Linked DNA regions of Homo sapiens: regions 1 and 3 are each linked to region 2. The links are contacts of gene promoters, found by promoter capture Hi-C in blood cells and fetal thymus (Javierre and others, 2016). All regions are on one chromosome and are shown on one strand. Each heading gives the region's core, a stretch centred on a gene start or on the middle of the fragment in contact. The rest is flanking DNA. Distances are from core to core; before and after follow the strand shown. Region 1 overlaps HEXD (hexosaminidase D). Region 2 holds the start of ASPSCR1 (ASPSCR1 tether for SLC2A4, UBX domain containing). Region 3 holds the start of MRPL12 (mitochondrial ribosomal protein L12).

Region 1 (3,371 bases), core at 457-2,956, 450 kb before region 2:
GCCTTCTACAGCCTCCTCCAGCCTTCTCCAGCCTCCTCTGACCTTCCCTGGCCTCCTCCAGCCTTCTCTAGCCCAGCCTTCTCTGGCCTTCTCTAACCTTATCTAGCCTTCTCTAACCTCTAGCCCAGCCTTCTCCAGCCTTCTCCAGCCTTCTCTAGCCTCCTCCGGCCTTCTCTAGCCCAGCCTCCTCCAGCCTCCTCCAGCCTTCTCCGGCCTCCTCCAGCCTCCTCCAGCCTTCTCTAGCCTCCTCCAGCCTTCTCCAGCCTTCTCTGGCCTCCTCCAGCCTCCTCCGGCCTTCTCTAGCCCAGCCTCCTCCAGCCTTCTCCAGCCTTCTCCAGCCTTCTCTGGCCTCCTCCAGCCTCCTCCAGCCTTCTCTAGCCTCCTCCAGCCTTCTCCGGCCTTCTCTAGCCCAGCCTTCTCTGGCCTTCTCTAACCTTCTGTAGTCCAGCCTTCTCCAGCCTTCTCCAGCCTTCTCTAGCCTTCTCCAGCTTTCTCTAGCCTTCTCTAGCCCAGCCTTCTCTGGCCTTCCTTCTCTGGCCTTCTCTAACCTTCTCTAACCTTCTCTAACCTTCTGTAGTCCAGCCTTCTCCCATCAACAGAAGAAACGCCTGCAGGACAGAGACAGGAACTGCAGCTCTTCCCTGTAGGGGGCGCTGCTGATGCTTACTTTCCCTTTAAATGTTTCAAAATTCTCTCCAGTGAATGTTTGAAATGAAACTTTGTTTTCATACAATTAAAGAGATGAATTTAAAAAGACAAAAAAGGAATGTACCCACCACTGTTCAGTTCCTGACTGTGCCACCCGCACCTCCAGGTTGCTGCTCCTCCTGCCCTGCGGAACCCCCCCTTCCCCGCTTTCACGCCGCGCCCCTGTACCTGCCACGGGCAGTGTTACCTGTAGGCGTACTTGGCCCTCAGCAGCCTCAGAGGGCCCTCGTAGGGAAACATGTCTTCATACTCAATGAGGAGGCCGTTTGCACCTAGCGCACGGAACAGAGGAAAAATCTGGGGGGTAAACAGGGAGGGGTTAGGAAGAAGTGGCTGCTGGAGCACGATGTGGCAAGTCCACAGCAGGGAGACGCCTTCCCTTTCAGCCTGTGGAGACTGTGGGAGTTGCTACTTCTATTTCTCCTGGGAACCTTAAATCCGGAATGTGTACTTTACGTTATGCCAAATGAAACTCCCCGTTCCAGTGACTATTTTGCACAGAAGGGGAGATATGCTATGAAACAGGGCTGCTACTCAACGCGCTGGTGGCTCAGCTTGGGAGGGACGGGTCCGGCCAGCAGGGAGCCACCAAGAAGCAGCTCTTCATGCACGGCGGCCCAGCAAGGCAGCCAGGCTGAGGGGCACCAGCAAGGCATGGGGGACAGGGCAGCCAGGCTGAAGGAGAATGGCAAGGCATGGGGGACGGGGCAGGAGGAGCCGGGGCAGGGGGAGCAGGGCTCTGAAGGGTTGGGGTCAGCACCTGGGGGAGGTGAGAGAGGGGTGCAGAACTCATTCGTTCCTGGTCTGTACTCATGGGGTCCCTTCCCCCTTATTCTCCTCCCCACTTCCTTGTCTTTCTCTCTTTTTTTTTTTTTTTTGAGATGGAGTCTCGCTCTCTCGCCCAGGCTGGAGTGGAGTGGCGTGATCTTGGCTCGTTGCAACCTCTGCCTCCCGGGTTCAAGCGATTCTCCTGCCCCAGCCTCCCGAGTAGCTGGGATTACAGGCGCCCGCCCCGATGCCCAGCTAATTTTTGTATTTTTAGTAGAGACGGGGTTTCACCATGTTGGCCAGGCTGGTCTCGAACTCCTGACCTCAGGTAATCTGCCCCTCGGCCTTCCAAAATGCTGGGATTACAGGTGTGAGCCACTGTGCCCGGCCTCTCTCTTTTTTTTAACAGATGGGGTCTCACTCTGTTGCCCAGGCTGGAGCGTGCTGGCATGATCATGGCTCGCTGCAGCACCCAACTCCTGGGCTCAAGTGATCCTCCAGCCTCAGCCTTCCAAGGAGCTGGGACTACAGGCACATGCTAGGCCTCCTGGATGACACACATGCAGGAGAACTAAGGAGCCCCAGCTGACAGTTGGGATGAACTGCCGGACATGGAAGGCCACGCGGACCATCAGAGGTTTCTAGATGTTACGGGGCTGTGACCACCTGAGGGCACCTCGGTCAGAAAAGCAGAATCACGCAGCCAACCCACAGAAACACAAGGGGTGATGAATGGGGACCTCAAGTTTGGGGAGATCTGTCACGCAGCAACAGATGATGGAAACAGGGACTCCAGCTGTGTGTAAGTTGGATCTTCTTTGCCTATATTCAATTGTCAGAACGCCTTTCCTTTCTTTTTTTTTTTGAGATGGAGTTTTGCTCTTGTCCCCCAGGATGGAGTGCAGTGGCACGATCTCAGCTCACCACAACCTCCGCCTCCCGGGTTCAAGCAATTCTCCTGCCTCAGTCTCCCGAGTAGCTGAGATTACAGGCACCTGACACCACGCCTGGCTAATTTTTGTATTTTTAATAGAGACAGGGTTTCACCATGTTGGTCAGGCTGGTCTCGAACTCCTGACCTCAGGTGATCCACCCTCCTCAGCCTCCCAAAGTGCTGGGATTATAGGCATGAGCCACCGCGCCTGGCCCAAGTCAAAATGCCTCTTCATCAGCTGTATGTAAGTTCAGTCTTCTTTGCCATATTCAATTTGTCAGAACGCCTTTTCATCTCTGTTTGCTTTTTTCTTTTCTGTCATCTGTTTCCAAATACTGCACTTTCCATGGTGTCTACTCACTTGTACACTTCTTATAGTTTAGTCTTCATTAAAAACATTGTTTTTTCCTTATAATTCATTTCTGAGCTCCACAGGCAATTTTTTACAACCTCCTTTTGTCTGATTACCACATTTCTGGGCTTTTTTTTTTTTAGACTGAGTCTTGCTCTATCGCCCAGGCTGGAGTGCAGTGGCACGATCTTGGCTCACTGCAACCTCCACCACCCAGGTTCAGGTGATTCTCATGCCTCAGCCTCCCAAGTAGGTGGGATTACAGTTGTGAGCCGCTGAGCCTGGCCTGGGCTTTTCTATTTCTGATTTATGCTGTTCTTTCACAGCTTCCGTCATCTTCTGAGTATCTTTTATCTTGTTATGAAATATTATGGAACAGTGTTTCCTGCTGGGTGGGCCTGTGTGTCTGGAGCACCTTCACTGCTGCAATGCTATTCAGATCATCTTCTTTTTTCTTTTTTTTTTTTTTTGAGACAGAGTCTCACTCTTGTCACCCAGGCTGGAGCGCAGTGGCACAATCTCGGCTTACTGCAACCTCCACCTCCCAGGTTCAAGTGATTCTCCTGCCTCAGCCTCTCGAGTAGCAGGATTACAGGCGCCGCCACCACA
Region 2 (3,596 bases), core at 1-2,500:
CCCTGTAGTTCTGCAACCTGCCTTAAACTTGCCTAGCACAAGCTACCCCCTGGCTCTGGCACGGTTCTGTGCACCTGCTGCCACTGCCTGCACCGCCTCCGCCCCTCTTCTCCATAAAAAGCCAAAGCCGTGGCCTTGCACCAAGGGGTCCCGCGCAGCCTCTGCGGGAGCGCCCCACTTCCGCACTCTGCACGCCTGGCACCAACAGCCTCCTGGCTGCGCCCTCCACCTGCCCAGGCCTGGGGACCCCACGCCGTGGGCTGCTCCCGCAAACTCCGAGTCGTGTGCACCTTCGGATCCTCACGGTCCCCCACGCAGCAGAGGCTCAATAAATACTTTTTTTTTTTTTTTTTGATATGGAGTCTCGCTCTGTCTCCCAGGCTGGAGTGCAGTAGCGCGATCTCGGCTCACTGCAAGCTCTGCCTCCCAGGTTCACGCCATTCTCCTGCCTCAGCCTCCCGAGTAGCTGGGACTACAGGCGCCCGCCACCACGCCCGGCTAAATTTTTTTGTATTTTTTTAGTACAGACGGGGTTTCACCGTTTTAGCCAGGATGGTCTTGATCTCTTGACCTCGTGATCCACCCGCCTCGGCATCCCACAGTGCTGGGATTTACAGGCGTGAGCCACCGCGCCCAGCCAATACTTTTACATTTAATTGATTCGCGGTCACAAGGTGCCCAAGTAAAAGTGCAGTGAGTGACTCGGCAAAAATCGCTTCCAGGCCCCACGGCCGGGACATCTGCCACCGCGCAACCCGGGCTCCCGCTCCGGGGGACGCCCCGGAATGGGAACGCGGGTCTAGGGCTCCACTCCTCCCTCTTCCCGGCGCCCTCGCGAGCTGGGCTCGGCCGGGCGCCGAGTACTCGATGCGGGTGACACGCGGCGCCGTTCTACCTCACCCCTGGGAAGGCTCGCCACCGCCCCGCCCCCACTCGGGACCCCCGGGACCCCCGGGACCCCAGCGGAAGCGCAGGTGACGGCGAGCAGGGGGCGGGGCCGCCGCTCAGGAGGCCGCTCATTGGCCGCCGAGGCCCCGCCCCCGAACACCGGGACGCCGACCGCAATGGGCGGGGCCTCGGCGCAGCGCCCCCCGCCCGCCTACCCGTCCGCCCCGGGCGGGCGGCCGCACCTGAAGCAGCACGGTGCTCGGCGTCACCTTCACCGTGTGGCGCCGGCCGTTCGGGGCCAGCACCGACACCGCGGAGCCTCCGCCGCCTGCCGGGGCCGCCATTTTCCGCTCACGTGACCCGCCGCCGGGCCGGCGTCAAACAACTTTATCGGCAACAGCCAGGACGCGCAGCCACGCGGCCAGGGGGCGGGGCCGCAGCGCACTTCCGGGTCCTGCCAGGCCCCGCCCTTTCCCCACCCACGGCGCCCCGGCCCCGCCCTTGGGCCGCCAAAGCCCGCGCCAGACCCGGAAAGCGCGGTCGTCCTCTGCCTCCGGGAAGCGCGGCTTGGATGGGCTCGCCGGGGCCAGGCTGGGCCGGGGCTGGGCGCGCGGTCACCCCCGGTGAGCGGCACTGAGCCCCGGGGTCCCAGCGGTCCGCGCTCGCCCACCCTCGCTTCGTCCCTGACACGTCCCCAGCTCGGTGCCCTGCTCTCCCCCGACCCTCCCGGCTTCCTCCACTCCAGCAGCTGAGCCTCTTCCCTGCCCACCTGTCCCTGTGGTCAGCGTCCACCTCCTGACCTTATGGTTTGGGGCAGTCCCCCCGCCCCTGTACGGATCCTCCCTGGGTGTTGGGACTCGTGGCCCTCAGTCTAGACCTGATTTCTTTCATCCTAAAATGGGAGTGCAGAATCTGGCAGCCCTAGGGCTGCCGCGACGGTCCCTAAACCTGAGGGTAGGAAAGGCGGGAGACCGGTTTCAGAACCGTGGGGTGAGCGAACTTGAGTCTCACCGGAGCTCCTGCCGACCCACAGGCACTCAAGGACTTCCCGCACCAACCCATGCTGAGGAGGGGCTTGGTGGCAGCCTCAGGAAACACTCCCATCGCCAGCCACCGCAGCAGGGAAAGCACCTGGCCTCACCAGCTCCAGGCTTCCAGAAGGAGCTGCCCTCCTGACTCGCAGCCGTCGAATGTGCTTAGCTCCCAGCACCTGGGCCACTCATGGACAGCACTCGCACGTGTTCCGCCCCGCCCCCCACCTCCATGGCTCAGCCGGGCCTTGGCACTCCTCTCTCCATGTGCCTGCCTGTCTCTGCGGACTCCTGGCTAGGGCTCAGCTGCCCAGTAGCCTGTGGAAGGGGGAACTGGTGCAGTTATCAGTCAATCCTCCCACAGGGCTGGGATTACACACGTGAGCCACCGCACCCGGCAGTCATTGCTGAGTCTAAGGACATCTCTGCATGGGTGCTGTTGTGCCTTCCTGTCGATGACATATCCATGTCACCCACACACACCTGTATGCTGACAAACACGGACATCTATGTACATTGGAGAAACCTGGGGAAAGCCCCAGGCTAGCCATAGCCCTCCCATCCAGCCAGCCAGTCCCATGCTCTGTGCAACCTCAGAACCTTACTGAGCCACACATCACCTGGTGGGTTTTAATTCTTTAGTGGCGTTTTTGAAGAGTCTGTTCCTATTTTCCTTAGACTGTCCCACAGTCTGGATCCTTGGTTAAACGTTTGGGGCAATGATGAAGGGAGGTGACAAGTCAGCAGGAGGTGCAGGACATCAGCGTGGCCATGAGTGAGGACGTGAAGTTGAACCACTTGGTCAGCTTTGGGTCTGCTGAATTCCTCCATGGTCAAGGTCCGTGGCTCCTTGTGGAGTAATTAAGGCATGCGTGAGGTCATTCTCTGAGACCACAAGCATCAAGTTTTCCCAATAACCATTTGCCCAACAGTTTTAGCATCAGTTAATGAGTAGATTCAGTGTTAAACCGTAAAGCTGCAAAATCATGGCTTCCCAAGTTTATTGTTTCTTCTACATTTATAGTCACTTTCGGTCAAGCTTCCCCTTCTTTAAAAAGTTATTAAATATTTGGGAGGCTGAGGCAGGAGAATGGCGTGAATCCGGGAGGCAGAGCTCGCAGTGAGCTGAGATCACGCCACTGTACTCCAGCCTGGGAGACGGAGCAAGACTCTGTCTCAAAAAAAAAAAAAAAAAAAAAATTAAATATGGCCAGGCGCGGTGGCTCACGCCTGTAATCCCAGCACTTTGGGAGGCTGAGTTGGGCAGATCACAAGGTCAAGAGATTGAGACCATCTTGGCCAACATGGTGAAATCCTGTCTCTACTTAAAAAAAAAGTACAAAAATTAGCCGGGCATGGCGGTGCGTGCCTGTAATCCCAGCTATTCGGGACACTGAGGTAGGAGAATCACTTGAACCTGGGAGATGGAGGTTGCAACGAGCCAAGATCGCACCATTGCACTCCAGCCTGGGCGACAAGAGTGAAACCCCATCTTGAAATATATATATTTATTAATATGAATTCATGTATTTTTTTCATTCAGTCAGCATTCTTTTTGATGCTCAAATTGGTCCGAATTTGGCCAGTGAGACCTCCTTTAAGCTGGCTCCTATGCTTTTTTTGATAGGAGGGATGATCTTTTATCCTGATATTATTTCAAACTTAGCCGAGCAAGGT
Region 3 (2,700 bases), core at 1-2,500, 270 kb after region 2:
CAGTGTCCACAGCTGGCCCTCACACCAGCCGGAACCTACTGAGGAGGGGCAACTAGCCTGGCATGGACCTTGCACCTGGACAAACACACTTTTGACAATTTACCAAACTCCCAAAATACACCAGGAACAAAACACAGGGGCCCTGAAACTTCCAGCCCCTGGGTCTGTGCCACCCTCTCACGATACCTTCAGGAGCTCGTTGAGGTCTGAGATTTCCAAGAGAGTGAGGCTGGCGATGTCCTGGACCAGCTGCTGTATCTTGGGGGGGTACTCCTTGGGGGCGTTATCCAGGGGTGCACCAGCGAGGGCCTCACACCTCTGATGGCCGCTGCTCCTCATATGTCGCACGGCACAGACACATGGCACCTGTCGCCTAGCCCCCACCCCCAATTAAAACAGACTTGTCAGTCCTGGAATGGAAGGGGCTGCAGAAACCAGAGGGGCAGGACAACTGGGGGACTGGTGGGTGCCATAAGCTCAGGCTGGTAATCACTAGGGCCGGAAATTACCTAGCTCCTTGGTCCCAGTCCAGGGTTCTCAGACCTCAAGGGGTCCGTATTGATAAGATTTGCAAGTTACTTTAAATTCTTCAAAGAGCCTTAGAAAGCCACGTGTTTATTTGCAGCCATACCACTCAAACCTCAAGTTTCTGGTTTGAATGAACTACATCAACCCAGCGGTGGCGAAACTATTACTTAGGTGCATCTTCCTGCGCAAAGCCTCCCAAAACATGGGGGCCCCTGGCCGCAAAACGCCGCACCCACGGATGGGCCTTTGCTGCGGAAAAGGCTGAGGCCAAGGGAGGAGCAGGGAATCGTCCAAGGTCATCTGGGGCCGACCCCGGCGCTTTCCACGGCCCAGGAGGGAAGGGGCGTGCGCACCGGGAGGCCTCCTCCCCGCGCCCCCGATGGGACCCCCAAGCCCGGCCTGGCCGCTGCAGGGAGGCCGGCCCCGCCGCCCTCCTCGCCCGGATCGACCCCTCAGTGCCCGGCTGCCCCCTAACCCGCCTGCCGGCCCGGACCGCCCCAGGATCCCGCGTACCTGGCAAGGCGGAACGCAGCGGCCCGAAGCCCAAGGCAAGGCCCCCACAGGGGGCGAGCGGCCGCCGGCAGCATCGGTCCGCGGGCTGGAAGGTCACACGCGGTTCCCCGGGAGGAGGCGACGCTCTAGCCGCCTCGGCCGCCGGGCATTCGAGCTGGGGAGGAACGCTCTAGCCGCCACGGCTGCCGGGCATTCGAGCCGGAAATGACGCTCTAGCCGTACCTCGCGCTAGCCTCGTCTCACCCTGAGATTACCCACAAGGCGGCGCGCTGCGCAGACGCAAAAGCGTCGTCTGTGGCGGCAGCTAGACATCGGGCGACCCTCGTCCCGCCAGGTTTTGGGGTCGCGCAAACGAGCGACGGGGGCTGGGGCTCCGGATTCAGGTGTTCTTTCTTCAGCGCTCACGGGTTTCTGTCCGTACGCGATGCGAGCGAACGTCGCGGTCGAGGCTAGGGCCCCGAAGCCCGCAGTAATCCACGTCTCCCGCCCGCTCCGGGCCCCCAGTGCCGCCGTCGCGGGCGGAGGCGCGAGGTCTGGGCTTTGGCGCCTTCGCAGCCGCAGGCGACATCCTCTTTCCTAGCTAAAGCCCCAAACGCCCAGGTGGCTTCCTGGGAGAGCACGGCTGAGCCTCCGCCTTCAGATCAGAACAGGCAGAGCCTCCAAGGGCGGCTTGGGCCCAGTGCCTGCTTATCCTGCCCGTCTCTCCACACTTCTTCTTTCCCTGTCCGTTGGAGTCCATTCCTTCCTGGAAAAGCCAAAGCCGCGCTCCCCTAAGAGGCCTGGATGTGAAGGTGAGTGAGACGCCCTGGCCTCTGGGTGCAAAGGCCGGCGCCTGCCGCTTTCAACACTCAGGAGGCGCGTTTCAGCCCCGCTGGCCCCCGGCCGCAGACTCGGAGCGCTGAGCTCCCACCGTTCCCATCACCCGACTCCCTTCCCAGGAATGAGGAGCACCCGGGAAGCTTCAGCCACTACACGAAGGAGGCGCCAAGCCCAAACTCCTCCCCAGCTACCGGCGGGGTCAGTGCAGAGCCGCGGAGGGCACACATGAACCCTGGCACGCAGCCTCAGGGAGGGGCAGGCTGGAAATGACCCTGCCTGCAGCTGGGCCATCAGCCTGACCACCTGCCCCCTGAGCAAACGTTGATGCAGGTCGGGCGCGGTGGCTCATGCCTGTAATCCCAGCACTTTAGGAGCCCGAGGCAGGTGGATCACCTGAGGTTAGGCGTTCACGACCAGCCTGGCCAACATGGTGAAACACCGTCGCTACTAAAAATACAAAAACTAGCCAGGCATGGTAATGGGGTGCACCTGTAGTCCAGCTACTCGGGAGGCTGAGGCCCGAGAATCGCTTGAACCCAGGAGGCGGAGCTTGCAGTGAGCGGAGATCACCACTCCAGCCTGGGTGACAGAGTGAGACTCCATCTCAAAAAAATTAATTAAAGAAAAAACGCTGATGCTTTCTGAAATACATTTTATTATCGCTGTACCATTCTGGGGCACTGGAGATGGCAGCTGAGAAGCAGAGAAGCTGGAGACCTGAAGCCTCCACCCTTGGCTGTGGCTGCCGAGAGAGGCCCCTGCAGAGGGAGCCCCAGGCCACACCCAGACACCACAGCCAGCTCACAGTGCGGCCAGAGGGCACAGGCTGCTTGGGGGGTG

The links. Contacts are between HindIII fragments. The CHiCAGO score rates a contact against its expected background, and 5 or more counts as called.
Region 1: a contact is called between a fragment that was not itself captured here and the fragment with the promoter of ASPSCR1 in region 2, in 1 of 17 cell types (non-activated CD4 T cells). The highest score is 6.1, in non-activated CD4 T cells.
Region 3: a contact is called between the fragment with the promoter of MRPL12 here and the fragment with the promoter of ASPSCR1 in region 2, in 12 of 17 cell types (erythroblasts, endothelial precursors, M0 macrophages and 9 more). The highest score is 13.4, in erythroblasts.

The regions. Positions count from the first base shown.
Region 1 is chr17:82,422,028-82,425,398 of GRCh38, reverse strand. HEXD (hexosaminidase D) reads right to left here. Exons shown (of 13, transcript NM_001330542.2): 3 at 896-1,005. HEXD-IT1 (HEXD intronic transcript 1) reads right to left here and starts at 74. Exons shown (of 1, transcript NR_170223.1): 1 at 1-74. RefSeq lists an enhancer at 581-1,416. The HindIII fragment of the contact is 7,971 bases long and covers 1-3,371 here.
Region 2 is chr17:81,975,283-81,978,878 of GRCh38, reverse strand. ASPSCR1 (ASPSCR1 tether for SLC2A4, UBX domain containing) reads right to left here and starts at 1,250. Exons shown (of 16, transcript NM_024083.4): 1 at 1,131-1,250. The coding sequence starts at 1,232. It overlaps LOC105371939 (a long non-coding RNA gene), which reads left to right and starts at 1,394. Exons shown (of 2, transcript XR_933953.4): 1 at 1,394-1,511; 2 at 1,922-2,911. LOC124904087 (a long non-coding RNA gene) reads right to left here. Exons shown (of 2, transcript XR_007065951.1): 2 at 2,544-2,768. RefSeq lists a silencer at 755-1,614 and enhancers at 1,093-1,864, 1,865-2,638. The HindIII fragment of the contact is 4,025 bases long and covers 1-2,960 here.
Region 3 is chr17:81,701,917-81,704,616 of GRCh38, reverse strand. MRPL12 (mitochondrial ribosomal protein L12) reads right to left here and starts at 1,250. Exons shown (of 5, transcript NM_002949.4): 1 at 1,042-1,250; 2 at 187-373. The coding sequence starts at 1,115. It overlaps HGS (hepatocyte growth factor-regulated tyrosine kinase substrate), which reads right to left. Exons shown (of 22, transcript NM_004712.5): 22 at 2,496-2,700. RefSeq lists a silencer at 883-1,262 and enhancers at 1,163-1,766, 1,753-1,822, 1,767-2,370. The HindIII fragment of the contact is 11,363 bases long and covers 1-2,002 here.